Regions from separate parts of the Homo sapiens genome. Here region 1 is linked to region 2. The links are contacts of gene promoters, found by promoter capture Hi-C in human tissues and cell types (Jung and others, 2019). All regions are on one chromosome and are shown on one strand. Each heading gives the region's core, a stretch centred on a gene start or on the middle of the fragment in contact. The rest is flanking DNA. Distances are from core to core; before and after follow the strand shown.

Evidence for each region. The method cuts DNA at HindIII sites, captures the fragments that hold promoters and counts their contacts. A contact is called where the count stands out against the background at its distance.
Region 1: a contact is called between a fragment that was not itself captured here and the fragment with the promoter of APP in region 2, in 1 of the 25 tissues and cell types used here (lymphoblastoid cells).

Annotation. Positions count from the first base shown.
Region 1 is chr21:25,389,250-25,391,949 of GRCh38, forward strand. The region is part of intron 4 of LINC00158 (long intergenic non-protein coding RNA 158); the gene reads right to left. Among named protein-coding and RNA genes, the nearest start is that of LINC00158, 41 kb to the right of the region's middle. The HindIII fragment of the contact is 3,867 bases long and covers 1-2,700 here.
Region 2 is chr21:26,169,456-26,172,173 of GRCh38, forward strand. APP (amyloid beta precursor protein) reads right to left here and starts at 1,315. Exons shown (of 18, transcript NM_000484.4): 1 at 1,109-1,315. The coding sequence starts at 1,165. APP-DT (APP divergent transcript) reads left to right here and starts at 1,412. Exons shown (of 4, transcript NR_186396.1): 1 at 1,412-1,597. RefSeq lists enhancers at 1-27, 526-1,050 and silencers at 68-337, 838-1,667. The HindIII fragment of the contact is 4,835 bases long and covers 1-2,718 here.

The DNA.
Region 1 (2,700 bases), core at 195-2,694, 780 kb before region 2:
TCCCTAACAACACTTAAGGAGACAGCATGTTATAGTGGGCTCACTGGCTACCTGTGTAACCTTGGACAAGTTACCTAATCTCACTGCACCATCTGTAGCATTGAGATAATACCTACTTCGTCAGGCTGTTGTAATACATAAATGAGTATATAATAAATGCTTAATAAATGTTAGCTGCTGCATATTACAGTTATTCTTCAACAGCATTGATTTTATCCTAATCCTGTGTATTCAGTATCCAGCAGAGTGTCCAAATCCTATAGTACTCCATCTAGGTAAATTTTCCAAATGTCTTTAATTGACTATTTCCTTTTGGTTAGTCTCCTCATATGGCCCCTTTCATCGGCTTCCTTTTGCCATCAGTTTTTTCTCTTTTCCCTTTAAACTAGCAAAGACTTTATAACATATATTTAAACAGGATCCAAATACCTTTGATATGGTTTGGCTGTGTCCCCATCCAAATCTTATCTTGAATTGTAACTTCCATAATCCCCACATGCCAAGGGAGGGACCCAGTGGGAGGTAATTTAATCATGGTCGTGGATTTTTCCCGTGCTGTTCTCCTGATAGTGAATACATCTCACGAGATCCGATGGTTTTATAAAAGGCAGTTCCCCTGCACACGCTCTGTTGCCTGCCACCATGTAAGATGTGCCTTTGCTCCTCCTTCGCTTTCCGCCATGATCGTGAGGCATTACAGTTCCACAGCCATGTGGAATTGTGAGTCCATTAAACCTCTTTTTTTAAGAAAATTACCCAGTCTCAGGTATTTCTTCATAGCAGTATGAAAATGGACTAACACAACCTTCAGAATATTCAGCTCATCTTCACTTAATTCTCTGAATTTTGTACTTTCATATATTTCAACCTGTTCTTTGCCTTAAACCAAACTCCAAATAAATAATTTTATGTACCAAAATTTCTGCTCAAAGAACATTCTAGGACATAGTATGCTCAATTTGTAAATACTTAGAAATACCTTAAAAGGTCACAAGTTATGGTGGCAGAGTCTCAAGGAAAACCCTTTTTAGAAACCATTCTTTTCTACTTTCATGTTCTTAAGGGTGGGGAATAATCTTCTTTTCTGTTTTCTCTACATGAGACAATTATACAAAAAGACAACCTTTGTTTCTTAGAAATCCTATAACTTTTGTGTCTTTAGTTTCTTTATAGCCTTCTATTTTTCCCACACAAAACAACTTTAATCATCTGTGACACTGATTTTTATGGCAACCCATTTTCCTGGATTCTATAAACAGAGACACAGGCTTTAAATTACCAAAATCACACTGTTCAAAAACACCTCATTTTTCAAGGCAAGAAAATAAAATAAAAAGTTCTTTCTCAAAGTCAAAACAATTCTTTTCTGCTCAGCTTTCTAGATGCCTAAGGGCTTTTTGGTTGTTATTATTCCCTGACTTTCTAGCTATCCACCTGACCTTCAGCTTCTCTGTCAATCCAATTGGTTCATTATTTCCTTGCCAAAATCATCTTCTTAAAATTTAAATTTGATCATTTTACTTTCTGGGAAAAAAACCTCCATATGCTCTCCAATAGCAATAGAACAAAGGCCAAATTACTTTGCATAATCCTAATCACTATCCATTTCTTTCCTAATGCCCCTTCTTCACCACATTCCTGTGATGTCATCTACTTCCCCTTCTCTGGCCTTATCCCACAGCTCCTTTCCAGTCTCCTCCTCTTCATTCTAGACCTATGAATGTAGACATGCTCCACAAGTACATTTTCAACCTTCTGCTTTTCTCTCTGGATATCCTCTTCCCAGAGAGCTCAAATGTTCCCAAGTTGTCCCTGATAATACCTCCAAACACCACCTTGAGCAGTGCTACCCAACAGAAATACGTCAGCTGCAAACAAAAACTACACATTTTTAAATTTTCCAGTAGCCACATTTAAAAAGTAAGGAGAAGCTGATGAACTTATTTTAATCATATATTTTATTTAACTGAATATATTCAAAATATTATGATTTCAACATGTAGCTAATATTCTTAAATTGACATATTTTACATTTTTTAACTGTCTTGGAAATGGATGTACATTACACTTACAGTATATCCCAGTTAGGATTAGCCACATTTTGTTAGCCACAGTCTTCAATGGCCACATGTGCCCAATGGCTACCATATTCAACAGTGCAGATCTAATGCTCTAAACACTTTCTCAAAGTATGCCTTTGGTAACCCACTCAACATCTACCCAAGAATGCCCTCCCAGCACTTCAACCTCCAGGTCTAAAACAAAATACATTTCCCTCCTACATTTCCTAGTGCCTCACAAAAGCACCAGCTCCCCTTCCTGACTTCCTTGTAGCTACCAGTAGGCCCAAAAATATACCGATATTTGGGTTCTATAACTATTGAAATATTGAGGAAGCAGAAGGAATCTTTCAGGTCATCCTATCCAACCTCTAGGATTTTCCTCTACAGAGTGGTTTCTAACATATGGCTAAAGCTTCTGTGAGCCTCCTGATATTGTAGGCAAAATGTCCATACCTGGATTTTTCTGGCAAAAATGTATCTTTAGCTTTAAACAAGAGTTTAAACACCATGACCCAGGCTCAGCTCTGCCTCTTCTCTCTTCTGTAACGGCCACACCCAATTTATTACCAAATCCTGATCACTCAACTTTCCTGATCTCTCTAATGCAAACCTACTTCTCCCTTCCCACTGCCACTGA
Region 2 (2,718 bases), core at 65-2,564:
GCACAGGACAGAGCCCGTGCCTCCCCACCATCCGCCACTGCCCTTTCCAGACGCACATCCCACTCTCCGCCTTATTTCCTCCCCGCCAAGGACTTTACAGCCCAGCACAGAATTAAGCCTCGGAGGTGATCCGAGGGTGGGAAGCAGAGGGGCCCCGAGGCTCCGCCAGAAGCCCCGGCAGCGTCTCTGCCCCCTCCCAGGCGGACGCGCAGCCCCGGGAAGGGAGCCGGGCGGGAGCCTCGGTGGCGCACTGAGACTAACGCGGCTCGGCCCACGGCGAGGGCGGGGTGTCGCGGCTTTTGTTCCCGCGGACCTTCTGCCTCTCAGACAGAGCTTAGGGTGCGAGCGAACTCCCGGGACGTCCAGACTTGGGGAAGGCGCGGGGTGGCTATGGGTCTCCGACCCCTCCCATTTCTCGCAAGTTACACAAAAGGGAGACGCGGACATGCACAAAGTTTGCCTGTGGAAGGCGGTGCGCGACCCCGACGCCGGCTCGGGCTAGGGTCGCACCCAGGCTGCCGCCGCCAGCAGCCGCGAAAAGAGGTTGGAGCAAGGAAGGGGGATGGGGGTGAGAGAGGAAGGTGAAACGAGGCGGAGAACGCAGGGAAAAGCGAGGGGCTCCTAGCTTCCTGGGCTGTCCCGACTCCTCCTCCTCCTCCCCAGGGCCCAAGAGAAAGGAAAGGGCAACGATTCAAGAGCGAAGGACTGGCTTTAGGGACGCTGCGTTTTCGGTTTTCCCCACGTGCTCCTTCCCCCTTCCCCCCTGTCTGAATGTCTCTCGCCTCCCCCGACCCCCGCTTCCAAGGCAGGGACTAAGTCGGGGTCTGGGCTCAGGGTCGCCCCCTACCCTTCTCGCCCCGGGCTGGCGCGGAACCAGGGAGACCAGCGCCTCGCCCGCTCCCTCTCAGCGGGCCGGAGCGCGACTCCCTGGGGCAGGGCTGGGCCGAAAGCGGGGATGCGCTGGACGTCCGCAAGCGGGGGCGGAGAGGAGAGGGGTCCCATTGACGGACCCCCGGCTTCTCTGCATTAAAGACTTGGGTTAAGGTCTTGGGGGGTATCGCGTCCCCACCGTGCAGCCTCCCCCCGCCTTCCGAGGCGCGGCACCCACCTCCAGCGCCCGAGCCGTCCAGGCGGCCAGCAGGAGCAGTGCCAAACCGGGCAGCATCGCGACCCTGCGCGGGGCACCGAGTGCGCTGCTGTGCGAGTGGGATCCGCCGCGTCCTTGCTCTGCCCGCGCCGCCACCGCCGCCGTCTCCCGGGGCCCCCGCGCACGCTCCTCCGCGTGCTCTCGCCTACCGCTGCCGAGGAAACTGACGGAGCCCGAGCGCGGCGGCGGGGCTCAGAGCCAGGCGAGTCAGCTGATCCGGCCCACCCCGCTCGGCACCCGAGAGAGACCCCTAGCGGCGCCGCCGGGGAACTGCGCCCGCTCGCGCCGGGAGGGGCCCTCGCGCCCCGCGCCCACAGGTGCACGCGCCCTTGGCGCCGCCTGCACCCCACGCGCCCCCTCCGCTCCCCGGCCGACGGCCCACCTGGGCTTCGTGAACAGTGGGAGGGAGAGTCTGGGGCCAGGAGAGGGACGGTGCAGGATCAGGGAAAGGTGAGTCCTAGGACGCTGAGGCTCTAGAAAAGTCGAGAGCGCTCCTGCTCGTCCCCGTGAGCTTGAATCATCCGACCCCGCAGGCCTCCCGGGGGTGTCGTATAAAGGACTGCTGCTAGGGTGCGTTTTTATCCGCATTTCGTTTTTTCTCTCGGTTTGGAGAGGTGGGGCAGGCGTTTCTGGAAGAGAATGAGAACGAGTGAAGCTTAAAGGAAATAGGATTTTCTTTGCTTGTTGAGACAGCAAAACCTCATTTTTTAACCCCCAACGTCAAAAGCAGGCACGAGCAACCTGGAATTTCTATCTTTAGAACGAACCAAAGGAGCAAGGCGCAGGACCTGGCAAAGAAGCGGCCAACCCATTTACTTCTTCTTGAAAGCAGGGTTCTGGGCTTGGGTTTTGTTTCTTTCTTATATTTTTGTTTGTTTTTGGTTTTGTTTTGTTAAAGGGGGTGGTCAGTGTGGATTTTGCGGGGCGGGGGGTCTTTTTTTGTTGTTAAGCAGGGATGTAACATCCATCTGAGTTGGGGAAGAAGGAAAAATTAGGAGAGATCATTCGTATTCGACCCCCGTAAATGAGGACTTCTGACCTCAAACGCTGCCCTTGTTCTTCATTGTGTCTGTCCTGAATTATAGAAATGAACCTTCTGCCATGCCACTTTCTCCTGGATTAAACACAAACCGTCCACTGTCCAGTTAGTGTCCAGATAGTTTAGAATGCTCTAGAACTGCCCAGATATATCCCCTGCTCTTGACCTGAAGTAGCATTTAGTTACCAAGCCACAGCCCACTCCACACAGGGCTTGGAGCGAAGGACTGAAGCCAGGGAGTGCTCTGGCCCTTCTGAGGGCTGCACTGCAGCCTGCCTTCTCTCCCTTGCTCATTGCGCTGACAAGGGTGCCTAGGCCCGGGAAGGATGGCTCAGCCAGCGGGGTACAGACTTCCTTCCTGGGAAGTCATTTCTGTACCAGCTCCCCTAAATGTTGTCTTGTGTGTCTTTTCCCGCACTAGGCATTCAGTCTTGACTCTTGGATTACTTTTGCCCCTGAATGTCCTTTGGATGTCCTCAACAAATAAGGACAAATATTTATTGTCATGCAGTATTTGTTTATACGCTTCATG